Regions from separate parts of the Homo sapiens genome. Here regions 2, 3, 4 and 5 are each linked to region 1. The links are contacts of gene promoters, found by promoter capture Hi-C in blood cells and fetal thymus (Javierre and others, 2016). All regions are on one chromosome and are shown on one strand. The core of a region is centred on a gene start or on the middle of the fragment in contact, and the rest is flanking DNA. Distances in the headings are between cores, read along the strand shown. Region 1 holds the start of STX3 (syntaxin 3). Region 2 overlaps MS4A4E (membrane spanning 4-domains A4E). Region 3 has its middle 18 kb from the start of LINC02705. Region 4 has its middle 37 kb from the start of MS4A2. Region 5 overlaps MS4A3 (membrane spanning 4-domains A3).

Region 1 (2,605 bases), core at 41-2,540:
AGTGCTTCCCAAACTGTAATGTGCCCATGAATCACCTGGGGAAATGGATGAATAATTAGATTCTGATTCTGCGGGGCTAGACTCAGGCCTAAGCTGCTACACTTGTAACAAGCTCCAAAGTAGATGGACTAAACTCTTGAGTGTCAAGGGCTAGATTTTAATTCTATTAAGGTAGAACCTGTGCCACTGAATCTCCAAGGCTTAGCACTGGACCTCCCCATAGAATACACTCAATAATTATGTACTGAATGAGTCAATGAATATCTGGCTTAAAACCCTATGCGTTAACCCTTTTCTGTATCAAGTTCCATTGTATCAGCTGATCCTCCCAACAAATTCCTAGGGTATGATCATTCCCATTTGATAGATAAGGAAACAGAGACTCACAGTAAGTAACCTAAGGCTTTACAGCTTTTGCGCAGCCAAGGCTGGAGGTAGTCTACCTTCAGATCCTTTGACCTAACCACAGCTGTTCCAAAAGATACGGCGGGGGAGGGGGGGACAATGACACCCGGGGATAACAATTACAGACCACCGGTTGGAGAGGAGCTGACCCATCCCAGCATGTGACCGGCTCACAGCTCCAGAGGTCACCAGAGAGCTCTGAGCTGCTCCCTGGGGGAAGGGGCAGCCAGGCCTGTAGCACCTCAGGAGAGAAACAGGAAAGGGAGAAGGAGGCTGGTCCTGGGCATAGTGCCAGGCAGCAGTGGGCAGGTGGTGAAGGGACCCCTGACCTCCCGGGCCCAAGCACCCGCTTCGGGAACCAGCTCTGGACAGACACTGTCCAGCTTGCGGGGTGGGAGAGTTAGAGGCGTTCAGGAAAATCATTGCCTAGCGATGAATCACCGGGCACATGACCCCGCAGGGGAGGGGAGGGGAGGGTGCGGAACCGGCGCGGGAAGCGGTGGGGGCTTGGGGAGGGCAAGCCTCCGGCTCGGGCCCCCCTCCAGCCTCGACTTGGGGAGCAAAGGGAAGCCCCTCTCCCATGCAGCACCCCTCCTGGCAGCACCCCGCCTGCGGCGAAACTCACGGCCTTCAGCTGCTCCAGACGGTCCTTCATCCTGAAGCCCAGGCGCCCGGAGGCAGGTAGCGCGTCCCAGGTGAGCGCGTCCCAGGTGAGCGCTTCCCAGGTGAGCTGCCGGAAGCGGCGGCCGGGCCCGCCGGGGCGAAGGAGCTGGAGGCGCAGGCGGCGGCGGGCGGCGGCCGCTAGCTAGGAGGAGCGTCCGAGGCCACGGGAGCCTCCGCCGCGCAGCCCCCTCCGCCCCCACCGGCGCCTCGCGCTCCAAATCCGGCTCCCGGGCCGGCGCCGGCGCAGCGCTGATCCGCCCTGGACCCGCCCCTACCTGGCCGCGCCCCTCGCTCCTTCTTAAAGGGCCCGCGTCCCGCCACCGCCCGGCCGCCCGGGGCGTCTCCAAAGCCCCCTTCCCTAACCCGAGAGCCCTCCAGACACGCGTGGAGTCCGGGGAGAGGCCCCTGCACCGGCGGATCCTGCCGCAGGGCCGAGGAAGAGCAAGAGCGACTGTCTGGCTGCGGTCATTCGCTGTCTGTGCCGGGCTCCTCGCTAGGATCCAGTTCTTAGCCGACTCCTTGCTAGGCGGGGACAAGCTCCCGAAAACAAATAAGACAATGTGATGTGGGCTACATTGGGTGGCAGTCGAGTGTTCTAAAAATATCCCGCCAGGAGGAAGGCATTCCGAGTAGCGGGATCCCGCGCAGCCTCAGGGCTGCTGGCAGTGAAAGTGGGGGGATGGAGGAGGTGTCCAGAGGAAAGACCTGGAGATCTGGAGATACAGGACGGTCAGGGTGGTCAGAGAATTTGGATCTTTTGCTTGTTGGAAATCGGGACCGCTCCGAGAAACGTAAGCAGCTCGATGTTGTTAGTGCCAGTGGAGACACTTGGCACTCACAATTTGCAGACGTTTGGGAAAGCATCGTTTCTCAAGAGGACCCCGTTCCCGTGTCTGTAAATCAGAGATGGTACCCACTTCGTAGTTCGCTGTGAAGCCTGTGAGCGAGGAGGGGCTTTAAAATACAGAACTTTGCACTGGAGCGCTCCCCGTCCTCGCAGCCTGCTTGGTGTGCAGGTGGTTCCCAGGCGGCTTCTGCTTCCGAAAAGCAGATCGTCCCTTTATCTCGAGTCTTCTCCCCGCCTCTCCCTCTTCTCCCTACCCTATTTGTCTTCTTGGGAACAAATGGCACATTCATCAGAGTGGAGATCCATAAACGGGACTGGCGAGCCGAAGATTTAATTCTGAAGAATAGGATCTGCTCTGTGCTTTCAGGTTAAAAAGCTGTAAATATCTTTGTAATTCTAGCAGTACTTTGCCCTCTTCTGCCATCTGAACGCGTGCTCCCTGCTGACCTCATCGGCTCCCATAAAGATACGGTGCGTATGGCAGAGGTCGGGCTTTGAGCCGGCCCCGCGGGTCTCGGCCGTAGTTCTCTCTCGCGTCCGGCACACTTCCTTCTGCCCGCTGTGCTCGCTGGGCAGGTTGTCCCCGCCTTAGTACCAGGAGGGCTTCCGCGCCCCCTGGTGGTCATACTAGGAAAGGCGAGTAGATCAGAAATACACACTGTCCCACCTCCTTCCCCTAACACATTTTTG
Region 2 (2,605 bases), core at 28-2,527, 470 kb before region 1:
ATTAAGATGATTAATTCGGTATTTCATGGGTTGTGCCTTTGGTATTGTATTGACAAACTCATCACCAAAACCAAGGTCATCTAGATTTTGGCCTATGTCATCTGTTAAGAGTTTCAGAGTTTTGAGTTCAACATTTGGGTCTGTGATTTATTTTGAGTTAATTTTTGTGAAGGATACAAGGTATGTGTCTAAGTTCAATTTTTGCCTATGGAGGTCCAGTTTTTTAAGTAGTATTTTTTTTTTGGAAAGACTATTCTTCTAATTGTATTATCTTAGTTCTTTATCAAAGATCACTTGACTATACTTCTGTGTCTATTTCTAGGCTTTCTATTCTATTCCCTTGATCTATTTGTCTATTTCTTTGCCAATATCACACAGTCCTGATTACTATCACTTTATAGTTTGTCCTAAAGATGGGTAGTGTTACTCCTAAAACTCCTTCTTCTTCAAGATTGTTTTTGTTATTCTAAGTCTTTTGCCTTTCCCTATAAACTTTAGAGTCAGTTTATCAATATACACAAATAATTTGCTAATATATATATATATATTTTGAGATGGAGTCTGGCGCTGTCACCCAGGCTGGAGTGCAGTGGCCCAATCTCAGCTCACTGCAAGCTCTGCCTCCCGGGTTCACACCATTCTCCTGCCTCAGCCTCTGGAGTAGCTGGGACTACAGGCGCCTGCCACTATGCCTGGCTAACTTTTTGTATTTTTAGTAGAGATGGGGTTTCACCATGTTAGCCAGGATGGTCTCAATCTCCTGACCTCGTGATCCGCCCGCTTCGGCCTCCCAAAGTGCTGGGATTACAGGGGTGAGCCACCACGCCCGGCCATTTGCTAATATTTTGAGGGAGATTGCATTAAATCTACAGATTAAATTGGGAAGAACTGATGTCTTGACAATGTTGAGTCTTCCTATCCATGGACATGGAATATCTCTCCATTTATTTAGTTATTCGACTTATTTTTTTTTAAGTTTCTCTTATAGATTTTGTACATAGTTTGTTAGATTTATGCCTAACAAACACCAAATACCAATACCTAAATATTTAATTTTTAGGGTTGCTAATTTAAATAGTATTGCATTTTTAATTTCAAATTTCACTTATTTACTATAAGTACATAAGAAAGTAATTGACTCTTGTGTATTAAGCTTGTATCCTACAACCTTAATATAATCATTTGTTAATTCCAGGAGTTTTTGGTTGATTCTTTCAGATATTCTACACAGACAATCACGTCATCTGTGAATAAAAGCAGTTTTATTTTTTTCCTTACCAATTGTATACCTTTATTTCCTTTTCTTGTCTTACCATTTCAGCTATGACTTCCAGTAAATGGTAAAAGGAGTAGTGACAGGCTTATCCCTGCCTTGGTCCTGATCTTAGTGAGAAAGCTTTGAATTTCTCCATTAAGTATGAAGTTAGCTGTAGTTTTATTAATAAATATTCTTTATCAACCTAAACAAGTTATCCTCTATTAATAGTTTTTCAAAAGTTTTTATAATAAACAGGCATTGGATTTTGCTCAATATTTTTCCTGCATCTGTTGATATAATCATGTGATTTTTCTTCCTTTTAGCCTGTTGATGTCATTAGTTACATTCATTGATTTTTGAATGTCTAGTCAGCCTTGCATATCTGGGATAAATCCCATATGGTTATGGTATATAATTCTTTTGATACACTATTAGATTTAGTTTGCACATGTTTTGTTGGGAATTTTTGCATCTTTGTTCACCAGAGATGTTGGTCTGCAGTTTTCTTTTCTTGTAATGTTTTTGACTTTTTTTTTTGGTAGATAATAGTGCTAGCTCCATAGAATGAGTTAGGGAGTATTTCCTCTTTTTCTGTTTTCTGTAAAGAATTGGTATAATTTCATTTTCAAGTGTTTGGTAGAATTCCAAACCTTTCCAGGCCTGGTGCTTTCTGTTTTGAAAATTAATTAATTATTTATTTTATTTATTTAATAATTATAGGCTTATTCAGAGTGCCTATTTCTTCTTGTGTGAATTTTGACAAATTGTCTTTAAGGAGCAATTCATTGGCTCAAGGTTATCAAATTGTGGGCACAGAATTGTTCGTAGAGTTATTTTATTATCCTTTTAATTACTATGGGAACTGTAGTGATATTCCCCCTTTCACTTATGAGTAATCTGTGTCCTCTCTCTCTTTCTCTTAGACTGGCTAAAGGCTTATTGATTTTATTTATGTATTTTTCTTTTTTTTAAAAAAAAGCATTGGATTTCATTGAGTTTGTCTATTAATTTTCTGTTTTTAATTTTATGATTTCTGCTCTAATTTCTATTACTTTTTTTTCTTCCGCTTACTTGGAGTTTAATTTGCTTTTCTTTTTCCAGTTTCTTAAGGTAGACTCTCAGGTGATTGATTTTGATCATTATTTTCTAATATATTCATTCAATGTTATAAATTTTTTCTAAGCACTGCTTTCACTACATCCCATAAATTTTGATAAGTTGTTTTAATTTTTTGACCCATTTATAATGCCATGAGATAATTGTACTCCAGCTCCTATTTTAAGAACGCTGTTTACTCATGTTCATGTCCTCAGGCCCAGACGTCAAGAAAACATCAGATTTGCTCTT
Region 3 (2,605 bases), core at 76-2,575, 390 kb before region 1:
TAGTTTTATTTAGGAGACTAGATTCGGTAGGGAGATCTGGGTCCATTACCATTTCTCCATGAATTCCCTATCCGTTGAAAAAATGTGCAGATACTGCATTTTTTTCTGACGTCTGAGAAGAGATCCTATTTTTTTTTTTTGCACATGAAAGTGTTTATTAATCAGGAACTTTTGAACTTTCTCCCTAGACCCTTATCCATTGGACTGTCTTCGGGCCTTTTTCTTTAACTTTTATTTTAAGTTCATGGGTACAAGTGCAGGTTTCTTATATAGATAAACTTGTGGCATTGGAACGTGCTGTACAGACTATTTCATCACCCAGGTATTAAGCCTAGTACCCATTAGTTATTTTTCCTGATCCTCTCCCTGCTCCCACCCTCCAACCTCTGAAAGCCCTCAGCAAAATGATCGTTGGGAATACTGGAAAGTTACCGAGACTATTTTTTAATACAGGCACTGTTGCGTTAAAATTCAAAGTAACGCTGGCTTTTTGTTGTTATTGTTTGCTTTGTTTTGTTTTGTGTTGGTGTTTTGTTTTATTTTTTTGAAATCCACTTCTTCTTCAAAAGCAGAACATATATTTTTGAATTGAGATTCAAACTCGTGTCATCATTTTGTTTAATGCAAAGTGGAGGGGACTCCAAAGGCCTGAGATGAAGCTTTAGGATACAAGTCTTGATACGACCATGAGGTGGAATCCCAGCCAACGGAATTCTGTTCTCTTTAACGGGGCCTTGTGATTGTACTGATGATGCTAAACTGCTTGCAACTTTCAATTACTTTTGCTCTCTGCACACTCACCTATACTGCAGATGGCAGTAAAATCAGTTGGGTGAGTAACAGTTGAGAGAATGAGGATGCAATTGATTATTTTATTTAGTAATCTTGCATATAATTTTTCAAATATTTGTTAAGAGGAAGAAAGGCACAGCTGTTGTTCGTGTATAGTTTTTGAGGACCACTCCTCAAACAGTATTTTGGTCATATTTGCCCTACATTTATAAACACCTAGGATACTCAGAAACTCTCAACGGTAACACCAAGTAATTCAATATTATTTGTTAATTGATTCATTAGTTGATTTAATATCTATTGAACACTTATTTGTTTGATACACTGTGCACATGGTAAGGATATGAAAGTAGGCCATTCACTTCAAAAAAACTCAAAGTAGGCTGGGCGCAGTAGCTCACACCTGTAATCCTAGCACTTTGGGAGGCGGAGGCAGGTAGATCACATGAGGCCAGGAGTTTGAGACCAGCTTGACCAACATGGAGAAACCCCATCTCTACTATAAATACAAAAATTAGTTGGGCGTGGCGGTGCACGTCTGTAATCGCAGCTGCTCAGGAGGCTGAGGCACAAGAGTCACTTGAACCTGGGAGGCGGAGTTTGCAGTGAGCTGAGATTATACCACTGCACTCCAACCTGGGTGACAGAAGGAAATTGTGTCTCAAAAAACAAAACAAAACAAAACACTCAAAGTATATAAAGTCAATTGCCCAATGAAGAAATAAATTGGCCCTGGCGTAGTGGTTCATGCCTGTAATCTTAGTACTTTGGGAAGCTGAGGTGAGAGGATTACTTGAGTCCAGGAGTTCAAGACAAAGCTGGGCAACAGAGTGAGACCCCATCTCTACAGAAAATAAAACATTGGCCGGATGTGTGGCACATGCCTGTAGTACTAGCTACTTGGGAGACTGAGGTGGTAGAACTGTTTGAGCCCAGGAGACTGAGATTACAGTAAGTGTTGATTGAACAGTGCACTTCACCTTGGGTGACAAAAAGAAAGAGATAAATTATACTACTGTGATACAGTACATTTAACATGCTGTGAACTAGGACTATATACAAAGTGATTTAAAGAAATTGTCATTTGATTTTCCTGTTCTGCAACAGCTCAGGAGTAGGTAGTCCGTACCCGGGAGTATAGCTTTGCTTTCTTCCTTGTGTGGCTTCTTTTAAGGTATGAAAGTTGTAACTAAAGCTTTTTCCTTTATGTCTGCATCATATGGACAGATCTTTGTCATATAACCACACACAGTTATGAGTGGTGACGAAATCTAGCTATTGACTGAGCAGTTGTATGTCTAGGTTAAAACCAGGAGCTCTATTCAAGGAAGCAAGATCAGAATAAAAATTGCTAGACAATCCACATTCTCTGGCCCTAACACAGTCTTTTCTCTGGCCACCCAAATGTTCAACTCTCTCCCCAAAAAGGAAATGCACTTATTTTCTCATCGAGGTAGAAAATCCAGAGTCTCAGACATTTGTTATACTTAGCACAATCTCAGGAAATTTTTAATGATTTAACATTATTTTTCCTACAATTCTGGAACCACTTTCTTGTTATTTGGGAAATCATGTTGTCTGTACTTTCCCACACTCACAGTCAAAATACCATGATCAATTAGGAGGATTAAAAAGAATAAAAACATCTAGTTGGACAAAGAAATAATTAGTAATCCTGGAGTTACCTATTCATAGACTTTATTTGATTCTCTTAGGCAGGAATTGAGATTTGCTCCCCAAGAAATACAGCAAGATCTGCTTATAATATGGTTTTCATCTCTGCTCATTCTGGCCTTTTACTTATTACCCTCTG
Region 4 (2,605 bases), core at 35-2,534, 370 kb before region 1:
TAGGAAGATTCCTATAAGACTTCTCATGCCCCAAGTACTAAAGCAGTAAGAATATCTTTTGTTAAAGTATTTGATTATCCTTGGTTCCTGAAGTCACTCCTAAAAGATAAAGTTGAAAGACAGTCTTTTGTTATTTACAACAAGTGCTTTAAAATACTCCTAAGCTAGAGATATACCCAATGTAAATAAACAAGTTAACGGGTGCAGCACACCAACATGGCACATGTATACATATGTAACAAACCTGCATGTTGTGCACATGTACCCCAGAACTTAAAGTATAATAATAAAAAAAATTGTGAAAGAAAAAGAAAAAGTTGATGAATCTAGGTAAAGGCATATGAGAGTTCATTTTACAATTTTTGTAACTTTTCTAAAGGTTTAAACTTTTTTTAATAAAAAGTTTTTTAAAAAGAAAAAATAAATACATAAAATAAAATACTCCTAAGCTTATGTTAATAAGACAATTTTTAGAAAGCCCTAGAAACAACTGGTTGGAGGGCTGATTCCCAGGGGAATGATTCATTGTGCCCAGAGGGTTGGATTTTTTTGTCTCAACCCTCAACTTCCAGGAAGGGGAAGAGGGGCTGAAAATTCAGTTAATCACTAATGACCAATGGTTCAATTAGTCATGCCTATATAATAAAGCCTTCATAAAACCCAAAAGGACAGGTTTTGGAGGGTTTCCAGGTAATACATAGGCTTACAAGAAGATGAACAAGAACTCATTGATGTGCAGGAAGTTTAGCACATTCCATGAGGACAGAAGCTCCTGTGCTTGGGACCCTTCTGGACCTTGCCCTATATACCTCTTCACCTGGTTCTTTGTTTGTATTGCAAAAGAAACTAAACTTTTTATTGTGAAATGCAATCTCCCTTTTAAATTATCAGGCCCAGAGAGACATTGAAATTAGATTACAGTCATGTCCCACCCTCTCCTCCTTGAGCTAAGTAATCATTTCTAAGCCACCTGCTATAAGGACTCTAGACTCAATTAACATAATGATGCCATATGCTGGCAGCATAAGTCGAACCTTATAGCCAATCATGAATCAAGTTATCTCTGTAAACCAACACAAATTTCTGAAAAGAGAACTTTTGTAATCATCTCCCCTAATTCTACCTTTTTTCTTCAAAAACTTGAGCCTTTTCTTTGATCTCAGGAGCACTTCCCAGTGTTTGCTGGGCTTCAGTCCTCAACCTTAGTCAAAATAAACTCTCTACCTATATTAATTTTGTCTTGGTTTCTTTGTTTAGGTCAACAGTATCCTTTATTATTTCCTTTATAATACACTGATAAACATGTTTCCCTGAGATCTGTGAGGTGCTCCAGCAAATTAGTTAAGTCCAAGACTGGGGGCATGGGATCCCTGATTTATAGTGGGTCAGTCAGAAGTACAGGCAAAATAACCCAGGGCTTCTGATTGGCATTGGAAATGGGAAAAAGTCTTGTGAGACTGAGCCCTCAAACCATGGAATCTGATATTATCTCCAGTTTAGATGATGTCTCAACAGAATTGAAGGACAGCCAGCTGGTGTTCACTCCAGAAATGATTGCTTGCCTTTTTGGTGGGGAGAAATCCCCACACGTTTGGTCGCAGAAGTCTATATGTTGTGTCTCTGGTGTGAGAGCAGAGGAAAAACAGTTCGAGTTGTTCTTTCTACTTGGTACTATTTTGGAAGAAGTATGTAAAACAGCAATCTATCTTAAAAATAGTTTCCTGTGATTTCCTGCCGTGTCTGACCCTCAGACCCTGACTGAGCGACGGATGAATGGAGTATGCCAGACACAGGTTTCTTGCCTGGCTGCATGGCTAGGGGACTGGGCTGCTCAAAGACCCTGAGGAGGGTGCCATAAAGAGTCAGCAGCCGCAGCCTCGACAAGCTAGCTTTGGGGGCATTTATTCAGTACAGATTTAATCACAAAGGCCTTGAGTAATTAACACGGTTGGGCCCCCCTCCCCACCCCTGGGGAGAGCAGTCCTGCACGCAGATAATTAAAGGCCAGGTTCCAAGGCCTAAGTAAACTAACTTATCTATATCAATTCCATTGTGCTTCCTTGTTATCTACTCCGAGAGAATTCAGCTGCCTTCAGCTATATCCTTTCCCCAAGCTTTTGCAAAACCTCCTGGCCTTCCAAGAAGATTTGCTTCTTTCTATAATTTTTCCCGCCACCCTGACCGATCTCCTATAATTTCCAACTTAATTTTTCTTGAAATCTAAATTGTTGTCCCAATTAATTTGAATTAAGTTCACTGCCCAGATAATTTTCAAAATGTCACTGCCCAGTATACATACATGACAAAGCAGGTTATGGTGGTAACACAGGTTATGGGAGAAAAGAGGAAAAAGAGGAGGCCTGACTAGCAAAGTTGGTCTTGTTATGTAGATGAAACTTCACAGGTAGTAGCCCTCAGAGAAAACAGGTAGTAAATCTTTTTTTCAGACCTTTAAAGATATCAGCCTATCTATCAGTTAATCTTTTCTGGATTTGCACAAGGGCTGGCCTCAAATAAAACCTGGCTGCATTAATGTAGATTTTCTCTGCAGTTGCAGATCCCCTCCCTCAAAAGACAGCTTTTCAGGGCTACTTCTGTTTGCTGG
Region 5 (2,605 bases), core at 79-2,578, 310 kb before region 1:
AATATAGAATATAAGCTTCATAGAGCTCAGCCTCCTCAAATGGCTGGTCAAAAGGCACAAAACAAAAAATGAAGGGTCTTGGAATCTGTTCTCCAAGGTTTGATGTTTTCTACCATGAGAAAATGCCTTTGCATTTCTGCTCCCCAGATCTATAAGAAGTCCCTGTCTTTTCTCCAATCATTATTAAGTCAGTGATAAATAACTCAGAATTTCCTCCTTCTCAGCATAAGCAAGGTTTTCTACATGATACAGTTGGCTCTTGAACAACATTGGGGTTTGGAATGCCCACCCTTTCATGGTGGTAAATCCACGTAAAACTTATGACTTCCCAAAAACTTAACTACTAATAGCCTACTGTTGACCAGAAGTCTTACTATTAATATAAACAGTCGATTATCACATATTTTGTATGTGACATATTATATACAATAAGCTAGAGAAACTAAAAACGTTAAGGAAATCATAAGAAAGAGAAAATGTATTTACTATTCATTAAGTGGAAGTAGATTATCATAAAGGTCTTCATCCTCATCCTCTTCACGTTGAATAGACTGAGGAAGAAGAGGGAGAGCAGGGGTTGTTCTTGCTGTCTCGGGATGGCAAACAGAGGTGGAAGAAATCCACATGTAAGGGAATCCTCACAGTTCAAACGCACGTTATTCACAGGTCAACTGTATTTATTTTCTTCCCTCTTAAATCAGTGTTTAAACTAAGGCTGACTTACCCCAAGAACTTGTAATTTTGCTTTCTGATAATCTGGTGATCCATCTATGGGCTGGTAGACAGAAGTATTCAGCTCTTCTGGTCCCGCCTCACTGCCTGGGGTACCATGGGCAGAGGCTGACCCCAGCTCTGCATTATCAACTTCGTGGGAGGCCATTGGGGTTGTTTATGGCTGTGATAGAAAAGAAATCCAAAGCCTTCATGCTTTCCCTTTTTCCACTAGCTACTAAAATTTTGAGTGTTACAGAAGGGTTCAATTCTGTCCATACATTACAATGACTCTCCACAAATGGGACACCAGGGCAGAGTAACAGAGTTTGTACAATATTCAATTCTGTCTTGCCTTGGAGTAGTAGACATCATCGGGTCATTGTAGTAGGCCTTGGTGCTTCACTTAACTTTGGAATGGTAAAGAGCAATTTCTTTCTCATTTTGCATGCACTGATATATAGTCCCTGCCTTTCTTCAAGTCAGTCAAGGGCAACCAGACATATGGTTTCTCTGAGCAGTGGTCTCTTTATAAGAATAATGGCTTTAGTCACATTCCAGTAATAATAGTAGGTGTCATTTATTTAGTACTTATTACTATATGCCAAGCACTGTCTGGATGCTGTGAATGTATTAATATACTTAATCCTGTTATAATATTATTATTATTCCCGTTTCACAGATGAAAAAAATTGAGGTATAGAGAGACCGAGAAACTTACCCAAACTCATATGGCTTATAAATCATTTCAGATTTTACTAAAAACATTCTACTCTAAGGTCCAATATTTTTCAAATCACCACATTATATAGTACTATATAGAAGACGTCTTTCTGAGTACCAACATAGCATGGTAGAGTTTAAGCACTATGGAAGATCCAAATTCAAATCCAGATTTCATCATTTACTAGTTGCATGACCTAGTAATGGGAACCTCAGTTTTCAGAGTTTAAGCACTATGGAAGATTCCAATTCAAATCCAGATTTCATCACTTACTAGTTGCATGACCTTGTAGTGGGAACCTCAGTTTTCACTTCTGTAAAAATGGGAATAATTTTAATTTTATATTAACATTGCGAGAGTTGACTTTGATAATGTACGGAATTCTCAACCTGTGAACAGGTGGTATCAGCTTTTAACTTATACTCTGCCTTCTAACAAAAAGGACTTCAAGTTTGTATATATATAAGGGTCACAAAACAACCACCTCAATCATTACAGCTGAAAAATATGTATCACTAAAGTACACACAGAATGCTTACATTGGACTTCTGAATGTTGGGCAAGATAACTTCCTAATTCATAGTACCCTCCTACACAAAATAGTTGTAAAATGCTTATATGCTTTTATAACTGATGAGGGAGATGGCATGAGATGAACCATAAACAAACACATAAAATGATGCTGTATTCTGCCATAACTATCGATTGGGTTAAGAATAAGATCTTAATATAAATCATTCTACCATAAAACACATGCACGTGAATGTTCATTGCAGCACTATTCACAATAGCAAAGACATAGAATCAACCTAAATGTCCATCATTTGTAGACTGGATGAAGAAAATGTGGTACATACACACTGTGGAATACTATGCAGCCATAAAAAGGAATGAGATCATGTCTTTTGCAGGAACATGGATGAAGTAGAAGCCATTATCCTTAGAAAGCTAATACAGGAACAGAAAACCAAATACCACATATTCTCACTTATAAGTGGGAGCTAAATGCTAAGAACAAATGGACACATAGAGGGGAACAAAACAACTGGAGATTATCAGAGAGAGGAGGGAGGAGATCGGGAAAAATAACTATTGAGTACTAGGCTTAGTACCTGGGTGACAATCTGCACAACACACCCCTGTGGCACGAATTTACCTATATAACGAACC

The links. The method cuts DNA at HindIII sites, captures the fragments that hold promoters and counts their contacts. A CHiCAGO score of 5 or more calls a contact.
Region 2: a contact is called between a fragment that was not itself captured here and the fragment with the promoter of STX3 in region 1, in 1 of 17 cell types (erythroblasts). The highest score is 5.7, in erythroblasts.
Region 3: a fragment that was not itself captured here is called in contact with the fragment with the promoter of STX3 in region 1 in 1 of 17 cell types (M2 macrophages); the score reaches 5.1 in M2 macrophages.
Region 4: a contact is called between a fragment that was not itself captured here and the fragment with the promoter of STX3 in region 1, in 3 of 17 cell types (M2 macrophages, M0 macrophages and M1 macrophages). The highest score is 7.8, in M2 macrophages.
Region 5: a contact is called between a fragment that was not itself captured here and the fragment with the promoter of STX3 in region 1, in 1 of 17 cell types (neutrophils). The highest score is 5.2, in neutrophils.

What each region holds. Positions count from the first base shown.
Region 1 is chr11:59,754,061-59,756,665 of GRCh38, reverse strand. It overlaps STX3 (syntaxin 3), which reads right to left and starts at 1,290. Exons shown (of 11, transcript NM_004177.5): 1 at 1,031-1,290. The coding sequence starts at 1,060. RefSeq lists a silencer at 1,090-1,349 and enhancers at 2,220-2,379, 2,316-2,605, 2,376-2,605, 2,360-2,605. The HindIII fragment of the contact is 11,536 bases long and covers 1-2,605 here.
Region 2 is chr11:60,225,497-60,228,101 of GRCh38, reverse strand. The region is part of intron 3 of MS4A4E (membrane spanning 4-domains A4E); the gene reads left to right. Among named protein-coding and RNA genes, the nearest start is that of MS4A4E, 16 kb to the left of the region's middle. The HindIII fragment of the contact is 243 bases long and covers 1,156-1,398 here.
Region 3 is chr11:60,145,312-60,147,916 of GRCh38, reverse strand. No RefSeq gene overlaps it. Among named protein-coding and RNA genes, the nearest start is that of LINC02705, 18 kb to the left of the region's middle. The HindIII fragment of the contact is 1,328 bases long and covers 662-1,989 here.
Region 4 is chr11:60,124,355-60,126,959 of GRCh38, reverse strand. No RefSeq gene overlaps it. Among named protein-coding and RNA genes, the nearest start is that of MS4A2, 37 kb to the right of the region's middle. The HindIII fragment of the contact is 1,665 bases long and covers 452-2,116 here.
Region 5 is chr11:60,059,436-60,062,040 of GRCh38, reverse strand. MS4A3 (membrane spanning 4-domains A3) reads right to left here. Exons shown (of 7, transcript NM_006138.5): 2 at 725-895. The coding sequence starts at 880. Among named protein-coding and RNA genes, the nearest start is that of MS4A3, 4.1 kb to the right of the region's middle. The HindIII fragment of the contact is 2,621 bases long and covers 18-2,605 here.